Regions from separate parts of the Homo sapiens genome. Here regions 1 and 2 are each linked to region 3. The links are contacts of gene promoters, found by promoter capture Hi-C in blood cells and fetal thymus (Javierre and others, 2016). All regions are on one chromosome and are shown on one strand. The core of a region is centred on a gene start or on the middle of the fragment in contact, and the rest is flanking DNA. Distances in the headings are between cores, read along the strand shown. Region 1 overlaps PPP3CA (protein phosphatase 3 catalytic subunit alpha). Region 2 overlaps PPP3CA (protein phosphatase 3 catalytic subunit alpha). Region 3 holds the start of NFKB1 (nuclear factor kappa B subunit 1).

Region 1 (3,997 bases), core at 536-3,035, 1.2 Mb before region 3:
AACAAACTAGGTTCTTCCATAATTTCATTTTAATTTTATATAGTGAAAAAAGCATCCTCCCTAAATTAATCAAAATGCTTGTCTACATATAACAAAGACAGACTTGCTAGTTATTGAGGGTCTTTTTCCTGTACTAGTTGCCAAATGACAAACCTGGGGAGGAAAACAGAAGAATCTGCATTCAACATACATTCAGTTAGACCTCAGGGGGCCTATAAATACACATTCATGGAGCTTTCCATATCTACAAAAATTGATATTTGATATCCCTCCACCCCATACCTTTTCCTGGGAAAAGCTAGTCCAGAAAATGAGAATATATTATCTTCGCATCTATGGCAAGTTTGAAAGTGACTTGCAGTTATTCTATATGAGCTTAGATAATCCACTACCAAAATCATTTTAAATCTGGCTTAACTGCTAAGGCCAATTTTGAGTAGAAGTGTTTTTGACAGTCAAAGCCTTGATAACCACTTCACACCTACCTAGAGGCCCCTGCAACCAAGAGCTAAGTGGCAACAGAAAAAAACTACAGTTTTTCTATCCTATCTGTGAAAACCAGAAGAATGACAAAGGTGATTAGATGAGTGAAATGTGATGGACAGACCTCACTACAATTCATGTTAGATACAGGTCCAGACCTCTTCCCAGAAGATTGCTTTAAGTTGGTAAGACATGGACTTACCTGATAGGTCCTGAATTCCACTGGCCTGTTCTAAATGACAGCGCAGTCAGCATATTCCCTGGATTGGACTGATCTCAGGGCTTCTAGTCCTGGCTTCCTGTGTCAAGGTAGTGTTTGACTCACACTCATTCTGGGTTCTTCCCCATTTCTTCTTTGGTCTATTCACTTGTTGATTTTGCAACCCAAATAATACTATTGTCAATAGATGTCCAAAGACTGGGGTAGAATTAATTTAACATAATGCATGTGGCTGCTTAAACACCCTAGCAAGCTTCCCTTCCTGAGCCTGCTGAGATGCAGGAAGTAAAGCAAGGCTCCCACCCACCTCGCACCACAGAAACATGGCTGATTTACACAGAGGAGGAAAACCTGTTTCCGGGGCAGTCCCCAACATATTTAGCATGGACTTTTAAAACAGCTCATCCAACTCTAATTTGAAATCTAACTTTGATAAAATAAGCAGCCATTTTAAGTAAATGCCTTTCTTTTCTATCTATCCTTCACTTATCTGGGTCAAGTATTATTTGGTTCATATGTATTAAATAATAAGAGTTAATTTTATAGGTTCACATAATACAATTAACACATTCTCAATCAAAGCTCTTTCTTCATGTTTTAAAAATGTAAAACAAAACAAAAAACCCTTCAAAATCAAAACCTGCACTACTCAGTTTTCTCACAAATTATTAGTATTACCACTTTACAGGAAAATAAAAATTTACGGGAAAGCGTCAAATTTCAAAAAGATGGTTTTCAAACACTTGGTTTTAACATGTAGCTGGTCAACAACATAGGTTCAGATTAAAGCAAGTATCTATCCCTAATGTGGCAAATAATTTCGTGACTTGAAATAGCAAAACATCTAAGCCTTGGTATCAATACTCTCTGTAACAAGAGAGCATTGTCTAGCATGGCTCATATTGTTGCTTTTGGCTATAATGTTCTTTGATTTCCTTCTACACAATGTTATAAATCATTAGTCTCTCAGGTTAGTAAAAGTTTACTCAACATAGAGTGGTATTTTTAATTAGCAATAAAAAAGGTAAATAAGTCAGGTGCAATACAAGTAAATTAACAAAATAAGAGTATTTTAAAGTTAGAAAAATCAGTGCTTGCAGGGAAAAACATATTTCTCTTAAGTAATGTGGCAAACCGCTCTTAAGACTGCTGCCTGGCTCCACTTCCTCCTTCCCTGGGAACTGTCAGCACTCTGGCAGGTACGCAATCATTCTGCAACCCAACCTACAGTTGATTGATTTGGAGGGTAGACACCAAACTCATGTAAAGACAATCAGATTTTCTCTCCCTGGAAGATGCCATTGTTATCTGATAAATCCAGGTTGGGTACCACTAATAACTAAGTCATGGTATGACTCTGAAGAACACACCACTACTGCTTCCAAAGCAGTTCTTAGTTCCTAAGGCCACCCTGGTTTCTTCCTATTCTTCTCAAGACCGACGTTTCGGTTACTCCCAGGATTCCTTTAAATCTTAAAAGTTTACATTTAAATTAATTAAAACTAAATAAAATGTAAAATCGAGTCTTGTAGTTGAACTAGACATATTTCAAGTGCTAAATAGTCACATATGACTATTGACTACCATGCTGGATAGCTCAGATTCTCTAAACATTTTCCTCATCACAGAAAGTTCTACTGGACAATGATCCCCCAGAACCTTCTAATAAATTTCCTCTTTTCGTAAACTGCTAGAATCAGGGTTTGTTTTATGTGTCTTTGGTTATTGTTTGCTTTATATTTGTATCCATAAGCGTAATCAGGAAGTATAACGGTAACTTTCTGGAAATCTTGTATAGGATTTCTAGCCAATTTCAAGGGTTTCAAGTCTTGGAGTTAACGTTACTTCAAAACTTAAAAGTTTACTCACATGACTCCTGGACACCTCCTGGGTCACAGAATCATGGAATTTAAAAGCTTGGAAAAAACCTTAGGATATATCTAATTCAATTTTCTGGTTTTTTACACATGAAGACATTAACACCCACAAAGCTTGTAACTTGCTTTTGTTTCTGAACAGTACTTAAATTTGGCTTAACAGATTATTTAACACAAGATAAAAAAGATACCAACTAAAAATGTAATATAAAACATAATTCTGCAAATCTCATGATTACACAAGTAACAAAGCATGAAGTTTAAATATTTATTTACTCACTAAGCTGTTACTACACCAACTCCTTCCTACTCCCCACCCCCATGTCTTTTTTTTTTCCCCTTATTTATTTTGTAAGGTGCATTTCCCGTGGTTACCATTGTTTTCAATGTCATAGTTACCCATATCTAAAAGGCACAGAAAACATTCTGTACTTTCAAATCTGGGAGCAACTACATTTTTTGTTTTAATTTTTATTTTTCACTAGAACCTTTATGTTCAAATATTCCACATGATTAGTCATCTGTACAGATTGGAATCTGGATAGCTGAAGATGTTTTTATTCAGTTGCTTTTAAACAAATAGTAACCAAACATCATTTAAAATATGGGGATTAAAATGTCATACTTATTCATCAATAGATGTCAACTTGCTAAAGCAAGTTCTTTTGGCATCTTCTTAAGAAACGTATTGTTTCTAACAACAGCAAGAAAACCACACAAACACAAACCCAAATACTGATGGGAGACAAGGATTCTCTATCTTGTCTCCCTCTATCTGTACTCACTGTCTCACACCTCAATGCACTAAAATCTGTAACGTCCACACAGCACCGAGATTTTACAGGTTTCTTTCAGGTAAATATAGAATTCAAAATTCATGCAATATTAATTTTGACATAAAGGATTATGTTTAAATAATTATTATCCTTAACTTGCTTTCCTTTAATCATATCTTATCAAGTAGTAGAAGAGGAGATTATGGCCTCCCAACCATCCCTTCCATTAAAGATAAATTGCTTATACTTTCCCTGCTAAATAGATTTACATCTAATATCACTAATCTGTAAATAAATGGAATACAAGATTTATAACCCCTGTACATATCAAATCACTTGATACATGTTTTTGTACGGCTTAAAGAGTTCCCCCTTCTTATATCACATTGCACAAGCCGGTGTCCCACATCATCTGAAACAAAGAGATACATTTCAAAGAATTAATTGATACTAATTCCTTTCCCTTCCCTTTCAAATGCCACTGTGTGTATGTGTGTGTGTGTGTGTGTGTGTGTGTGTGTGTGTGTGTGTGTGTGTGTGTGTGTTTTCTAATACATATCGATGTTGGCTACTCCTATCTCAGGGAAACACCTCTCCCAAGATGGTCAAGCACGACCCACAAAGTCAACAAGGGGAGTTCT
Region 2 (4,046 bases), core at 167-2,666, 1.2 Mb before region 3:
AGTGGATACAATTACTCCCCTTTTATGTATAGAGAAAGTTAGCCTGTGAAGTTATAACATATACCAGTGGAATTACAGAAAGCTGAAGTTCAAGGTCTCACCATATCCCTCTTGTATATCAAGAGACTGCTACATCAGAAAGTTGCTGGAAAAAAATTGACAAAATGATTTTTAGTAATTATCAAAATTCTATATCATGAATCACCACCATTCTTCATAGTTCTAGAAGTATTCAAAATGGTAATTTAACCATATTTGCTAAAAGGAGAGTGAGTATCTGCAAAAATGCTGTTTTCCAATGAGGTCACCCTAAATGGATTCTTTATTTGGTGTCATAATTAGTTTCAAATTTACACATAGCTGACACAAAAAAAGATAAGGAAAAGCATGAGAGGCCAATTACAAAAGTTATAAATGAATGGTCTATCAAAATTATATTTCATCTCGCTAAAATTACAAATAAAACAAAGAGACAAATAGATTTTAAAAGGCATATTTTTAAACAAATCTTAGAGTAAACCTCATTAATTAGATTCTAGATGTTAATTTTTTCCTATTTTAACTGGATGTCTTAAGATAAACTGTCCATTTAAAATAAGGGTTCTATCCCACACTTCTCAGAAAAACTATTATCTTCAAAATGTTGATTATTCTAATTGATGGCATTTTAGAATCACTGGAATTCCCCTGAATCCCAGTCTCAATTGTTGCATTAATCATTAAATTTACTGAATGTTTTTACAACAATGCACTTGTGTTATATTCACTTTATAATAGTCCCAAAAGGAAATGTTAATAAATAGACCAACCTAACTCGTAACGAACAGGATGAATTTGCATACTGTTCACTAAGTATTGAAAAGAATTTGTTCTCTTGGTATATTAACAATGCTGGAACTATGTTGTTTATACTTTTTGGTTATCGGACCCCTTTCTTCACATCCAATGCTGATGTAAACTTCAGCCAACAAACACTGGTGTTTTTTCACAATAAATTTAAATTCATGATATTGAATTAATAAAGTTTCACTATACTCAAATTGAAAACCAGATACATGAAACTCAACTGATGGTAACAAAATGTCAGTAAAATAAATTCACAAGCTCTTCCTGGAACACCACAAATAAATGACATTATTTACTACTCTGTTGCATCAAGGTCTAAACACGACAGTTACTACGAATGTGACATATTTGTTTTCTTTTTAAGTAGTATTATCAGTCTCACCCAGCTAGAAATACTAGTGGCTGGAATCCTTATTTACTTAATAATACTTAACTAGCATCTTCTTGCTTCTATGATCTTAGCATCTTTCAGAATTCTCCTATGTGTACTCTGTCTACATGAAGTACGTAAGCTGGCAATACACCTGAAAAACAGCTCATTCTCTATGGCCAAAAGCAACCTTACACAAAGCACAACAACGCATTATCTATAGTTTCTGAGAGATTCCACAAAACTCTTCTCAGAAATTTATCCCTCAACAGCCTCCCATAGTTTCTAAAATTTCTACCATTACCATCGGTTTGAGTTAAGGTAGAAGTCCCATCACAAAATACTTGGAGATGGGAACAGAGGGAAGGTAGGTTAAGAGATTTAACAAAGCCAAATACTCATTATCACATAGGGTTTAATTTCCTCTAAGTATTTTTAACTATCACATAGCAAAGTTCCATGACCAATAGGGAATGCTAGGGCCAGACAAAGCATTCTAGGCAGGAACAGAGAGAAATGAAGAAAAGCCAAAGTTTGAGACAAGGCCTGTAGAGTATCACTAAGAGAAAAATCAGGACGGGGGTCAAGGGGAGGAAGACAGTTATTCTTCTATTTATTGCCCTCGGTTTGCTGTATGTATCTTTAAAAATATAATGTAAAGCAATAAACGGACCATATTATTTTGATTTCCAGCAAAGGTCATTACCAAGATGTTTTCTCTGAATTTTTCTACTTTCCATTGTTTTAATCCAAGAAGAGTCAAAATGATACAGCACTAGTTTTGCTAACTGAAGTAACTTTCTCTCCTGGGATAATCTAAACAAATACTTTTCATCTCCACTGCCATCATTCTCTTTCATTTTTAAGGTTTAGAAAACCGATCAGGGTCTCTGAATACATGCTAGCAGATTCTATAAACCTCAAAAATAACATAGTTGAGACAGACTCAACCTACGTCTCTAAAGCTGCATTCTAAAAGTACAATTAAGAAAACAGTCACATCATATTACTACAAACCACAAGCACATCTTTATTTGTAAATAGCAATTTCTTATACAACAAAAGCCAGATGACACTAATAAATATAACTGTAAGCAAATGCCATGGCATGCCATGGTAATAACAATCTGAATATTTATTTTTGTATGTATATATAGTAAATAATACTACACATACTTCGTAAAAAAGAGAAAACTTATGGAGCACAAATACTTCCTCAAAGATAATTTCTTTTCTGTATTAAAGAATGAGTTAAATAGCCATTGAGATGAAGTTCTAACAAAATTTCAAGTAAATAATGGTTTCTAAACTCCATATTATCTAATTTTTGCAAATTAAATCACTTGTTAATATGTTTCACATCCAGCATACGCGTACTTTCCATTCATTCAGTACGTGTATACATACTCAAGGGGAAATATTATTTCACAGAAAGCTAATAATCAAAATAGATTATCTCAAATAACTAATAATAAAAATCTTATGTATGACAAAAGGTTGAATCCAACCTTGTATAATGCCTTTCATGCCAATAATATTCTACAAGAAAACAGGATAAACAATAACAGTGTATCCACCTTAAAATCAGGATTCATCAACAAAACTTCTATAAACAAAATTTCACATTTCACATCTCACATCAGGATCTCTATCAAAACAAATGCAAAATTAACTTTTCCTATTTTGAGTCTACTATCCACATAGTATGTGAATAAAATTTTTTAAATTATGGGTGAGTGTGTGTACCTAAAATGAAAAGTCATTTATAATGGTACAGTATTGAAAAAAAGCAAGGCAAAGTAGCCTTGGAATGGTTGAGTGGGCTCTTCCATTTTAAGCAGTAGAGAAACTAAGCCAGAAAGTATAAACATTTATTTTTACATGTTCACCTGATGACTTTACACCTACATTAAGAATCCACATCCTATGATTTAAAACAGGGAATGTGACCTTATGTGTGCACAAGTGTTTTTTTAATTGCCAACACGTTCACTAGTATCATTTGAATTATAAGCTTTACATTGTTTTGATCTTAACCTAGATTGGAGCTACATCTAAACTTCACACATTAAGGAGATAATTGTCATTCTCTGATATTTCTGCAAAGGGTCTCAATTTTTGAAAATGTCAACAGAAGCCTTTCATGCAAAACACAGCTCTCTCAAATAAATGTGAATGGACTGTTTCCATGAAAATCCATGCCTGCAGGAAAAATAAAATAGCTGTGCATCTCTCTGCAGCCCTATTTCGAATCATTTTTGCAGAGCTATTTCCTCATTATTTTCATGGGTATATGAATCCTGCACCGAAGCTGAAGCAGGAATGATTCCAGTAAAACCAAAACAAAAGAAGATATTTTGTTCTTTCTGAAAAAAGGGAACGTAATTTCCCCCATCACCACCACCACTCACACAGAAAAATTACTTTAAAAACTGAGTAAACCTCTAAGGAGAAAGAATCATTTCTGAAACCCCAGAGGGACTTGTGTATCATGGTCTTTGGGCTGCTGGGTTACTTCACTTTTAAGTGCTCATGGTGCAAACGACTTGATTGCCTTGCACTCTAGTTGCATGCTCTGGCCACATTAGATACCATCTCTGTTCTACACACAACACACACACATTACACCAGCCAGTGCTGTTTCCAATTTCAGAGGCCCGCTCCCCGCACAGCTCATGCCCATCTCTGCTTTGCTTGGTGTCCTGACCCCCAGGAATGTGAGATACTACTTAATCCAAGTGGTTCTGCTCTGTTGCCTCAGCCTTCCAGGATTCATAGGATGGTTCCTCCCCCACTACACCTAGGAATACAAGGAGGCCGATAGATTCCC
Region 3 (3,962 bases), core at 258-2,757:
GCCCGGCTAATTTTTTTGTATTGTTAGTAGAGATGGGGTTTCACCATATTGGTCAGGCTGGTCTCAAACTCCTGACCTCAGGGGATCCACCCGCCTTGGCCTCCCAAAGTGCTGGGATTACAGGTGTGAGCCACCGCACCCGGCTCACAGAATTTCTTAAAAAGTCATTGTGTTCAGTCTTTATGGATCCTCTAAATTCCAGCTGCTCAGCCTCCCGGAGCTAAATGAGATCACTTAAAGGTCGACTGTTGGGGCCTCCAAGGTCGCCTCGGAGACTCACCTCATAGGCAATCAAATGGATCGCTGGGTTTTTGTGTGTGTGGGTTTTTTTTGTTTATTTTTTTTTTCCAGAAAAACACTCCACCAAGAAGGTTTTTATAACCTACTGGAGGAGGAGGATGGAGAGTGGGCACGAAAGGACTAGGATGAACATGCCATAAGCAATCTAAATGCCACTGCAATATTGCCTGGTGAGGACCTGATTACTGATGTTTTAAAGCTAAGCTTTCAGTTGTCACTCCACCCAGTAGTGAAACAATGAGCTCTAAAATATATATTTCGGCTCAAGCTTTCTTATGTGGGGAGGTAATCCACCCGAAGGTATCCCCAGCCTGTACCTAATACAGTGCCCAGCACTAAAGCAGCTCAGATGCCAGTGAATGGTGGCCACTGGGAGGCCTGTCAGTGGGTGCCAGTAGCGGTCTCTTCAGAGAAAAAGAAAACTCCCCTCTGCCAGATCAGTATTTTATGAGCTGTGAACCAAAACCATTGCTACCACCATCACTATAATTCTATCCACAGTAATTATCATAAAGGCCTAACAATGCCTTGTAGATGAACATTCTGAGTAACTGCTCTATAACCAGGAGATTTAAGACCGCACCAAAAACCAGTAGAGGGTTATACTTTACTGGGCACAAGTCGTTTATGATAACGAAATTGTAGTTTAATCTGTGAAGAGATGTGAATGTAACTGAGACACGCTTAAATGGAATATACAGATGAGCTTTATTTTTATATCTGGCATGCTTGGATCCATGCCGACCCTCCAGCTGCTCGGGCCTGCCCTTAGGGGCTATGGACCGCATGACTCTATCAGCGGCACTGCCACCGCCGCCGCCTCCGTGCTGCCTGCGTTCCCCGACCATTGATTGGGCCCGGCAGGCGCTTCCTGGGGGCTTCCCTACCGGCTCCAGCCCTTGGGATTCGGGAGCGCCCTGCTAGGAAGCCAGAGCCCCGCAGGGGCCGCGGCGTCCAGGCCGCCTAACGCGCGCCCCTCGCCCGGCGCCCCGAAGCGGCCCCGAGGGGCGGGAGCCGAGGCGAGCGGCAAGGCCGGGCCGGGGGCGCACAGCGCCCCTAGAAGTGCGGGCTTCCCCCACCCCCGGCAGCGACCCTACCTCCCGCCCCCGCTGCGTGCGCGCGTGTGTCCGTCTGTCTGTATGCTCTCTCGACGTCAGTGGGAATTTCCAGCCAGGAAGTGAGAGAGTGAGCGAGACAGAAAGAGAGAGAAGTGCACCAGCGAGCCGGGGCAGGAAGAGGAGGTTTCGCCACCGGAGCGGCCCGGCGACGCGCTGACAGCTTCCCCTGCCCTTCCCGTCGGTCGGGCCGCCAGCCGCCGCAGCCCTCGGCCTGCACGCAGCCACCGGCCCCGCTCCCGGAGCCCAGCGCCGCCGAGGCCGCAGCCGCCCGGCCAGTAAGGCGGCGCCGCCGCCCGGCCACCGCGCGCCCTGCGCTTCCCTCCGCCCGCGCTGCGGCCATGGCGCGGCGCTGACTGGCCTGGCCCGGCCCCGCCGCGCTCCCGCTCGCCCCGACCCGCACTCGGGCCCGCCCGGGCTCCGGCCTGCCGCCGCCTCTTCCTTCTCCAGCCGGCAGGCCCGCGCCGCTTAGGAGGGAGAGCCCACCCGCGCCAGGAGGCCGAACGCGGACTCGCCACCCGGGTAAGCCAAACTCGGGCGAGTGGGGGCCCGGCAGGGGACGCGTGGCCCAAGTCCTGCCGCCCAGCCCTCCGCACCCCCTCCAGCCCCACTCGGACTTCCTCATTCCTGCGCTAACCGCTGGGCTAGACCGTGGGAGGAGGTTGACAGTAGCTGAGAGGCACATGGGATTAGCGACAGCGGGGAAAGACACATCCGGACCTCGCAGGGGCTAGTCGGCCGAAGGGCCGCGGCCGCCCGGCGGTCATTTCTCTTCACGTCCCTCCGCGGGGCGGGAACGCGAACCGGAGGGGAACTCTTACAAACTTTTAAAATCCCCAACCCCAGCCCCACCTGGGGGATGGTGAGAAGGTTGGAGTGCGCTGCGGCGCGGAGGAGAGAGGGAAGGTGGTTGGTGCAGTGCAGAACCAGATTTCACCTAAGGGCGTTCCATGAAATGAAAGCAGAAGTGCTTGTCAGTCCTCTTGGCTGGGAAAGCCCTCCCCAGCTCCCCAGAATTGAATAGGAGAGTCTATTCATCCCTCTCCTACTTCTAAAAGAAACCTGGCTCGCTCTCTGTCTCTCTCTCTCTCCCCCCTCCCCCCCTCCGTGCGCGCGCGCGCGCGCACACACACACACACACACACACACACACACACACACGATATAGTCACCTGCTATAGGACTTGATTCTGATCCTCCGGGGCCTGGCATTTGAGAGAGAAAATAAATTACCTACCTGGATACTTAGAGCACTTTTTAGACTTGATTATGTAAAACTCTTGGACAGTGCCACCATGCATTATGCATGACCGCTGAAACAAAAATAATGTAAAAACAAGGCCTATCCTAAATGCAAGTTTTTCTATGGTCCTTAAAAACAGACACCAGGGAATGTTTGCCCTGACTTGCTGGTTTATCCTGAAACTCAAATGGGACTTAATGATACAGGATTTAATTATCAAGATTGACATGTTCATGGACTTTGTTAAGTAGAGGTTTTCAGCATTACAGTTTATGAAATAACCATATTTAACTCAAAGATTTTTTTATAAAGCTCATAATCTGAAAAAATGCTTATGGTATTACTAAAACATTTAATAGCTCTGGCATCAAAATATTCTACATACTGGTGATCTTTTAGTAAATAGTAAAGGTTAGGGTCAAGATATTCAATAATTTTTTTCTAGCAGAATCCCACAACTGAATATTGTCAAGCAGTTTAAACTGCATTCGTGTTTGTTAAAACTTTAAAAGGGAAACTTAAAACTAAAGTATGTTGTTTTTCTGATTTTAATATTGTGCTTTCTAGAGATGAATCCTTTTACTGTTTGAGGCACTATAGGAATTATGTATTTAAATGTATGTATTTAAATTTGAAGCAATGTACTTTTTTGAGTTTATAAACTTGGGAAGACAGGAAATAAAAAGATTTGTTTCCTGTAGAATTTTACATTCATGATTTAATTGAATTGCTAAAATGGAAAGAACATGTACGATTAATGGAGACTTGGAATCTGAGATTATTCATCCATATTGATACACCTGCAATTCCTAAATGCCCTCCCCTGCTTGTTTAGATAAAATGTCTTCCTGGGCTGCAGCCTACTGGACAAACTTGAACACAAAGGAACACACGTTATATGTACATTTAATACTGGAACCGAAAAGCTGCTTGCAGTGAAAAGCAAACCACTTCTAAACTCTTTGAGACTTTTTAAAGAAGGTAGTATAATCCTTTTAGGGGTTGGTGGTGATGTGAAAATCTATTATCTTTTTGCTGAAATTTCATTCTTATGTTAGGCATTGGCACTCACTTGTGCTGAGTAAATGCCCGTGTTTTTCAAACCCAGATAGTAAATACTGGGGGTATACATACAAAAATAGTCCTTCCCCTTTGTAAGCATTGCTTTGATCTTTGCACTTCCTTTTTACTCTACCTCTTAAACAAGATCTGTGTTGATTGAGTTGATTAAAGCACAATTAATCTGAAATAGGCAGAATTTTAGATTTAGTGATTATATTCCTTACATTTCTGTTGTTACTGTT

Evidence for each region. Contacts are between HindIII fragments. The CHiCAGO score rates a contact against its expected background, and 5 or more counts as called.
Region 1: a contact is called between a fragment that was not itself captured here and the fragment with the promoter of NFKB1 in region 3, in 1 of 17 cell types (M0 macrophages). The highest score is 7.4, in M0 macrophages.
Region 2: a contact is called between a fragment that was not itself captured here and the fragment with the promoter of NFKB1 in region 3, in 1 of 17 cell types (naive CD8 T cells). The highest score is 5.4, in naive CD8 T cells.

Annotation. Positions count from the first base shown.
Region 1 is chr4:101,281,754-101,285,750 of GRCh38, forward strand. The region is part of intron 1 of PPP3CA (protein phosphatase 3 catalytic subunit alpha); the gene reads right to left. Among named protein-coding and RNA genes, the nearest start is that of MIR8066, 43 kb to the left of the region's middle. The HindIII fragment of the contact is 1,663 bases long and covers 955-2,617 here.
Region 2 is chr4:101,341,646-101,345,691 of GRCh38, forward strand. All of the region lies in intron 1 of PPP3CA (protein phosphatase 3 catalytic subunit alpha), which reads right to left. Among named protein-coding and RNA genes, the nearest start is that of PPP3CA, 3.9 kb to the right of the region's middle. The HindIII fragment of the contact is 3,623 bases long and covers 1-3,228 here.
Region 3 is chr4:102,499,852-102,503,813 of GRCh38, forward strand. NFKB1 (nuclear factor kappa B subunit 1) reads left to right here and starts at 1,508. Exons shown (of 24, transcript NM_003998.4): 1 at 1,508-1,937. It overlaps NFKB1-AS1 (NFKB1 antisense RNA 1), which reads right to left and starts at 2,635. Exons shown (of 5, transcript NR_136202.1): 1 at 2,588-2,635. RefSeq lists silencers at 1,188-1,447, 1,458-2,027 and an enhancer at 2,138-2,187. The HindIII fragment of the contact is 5,238 bases long and covers 567-3,962 here.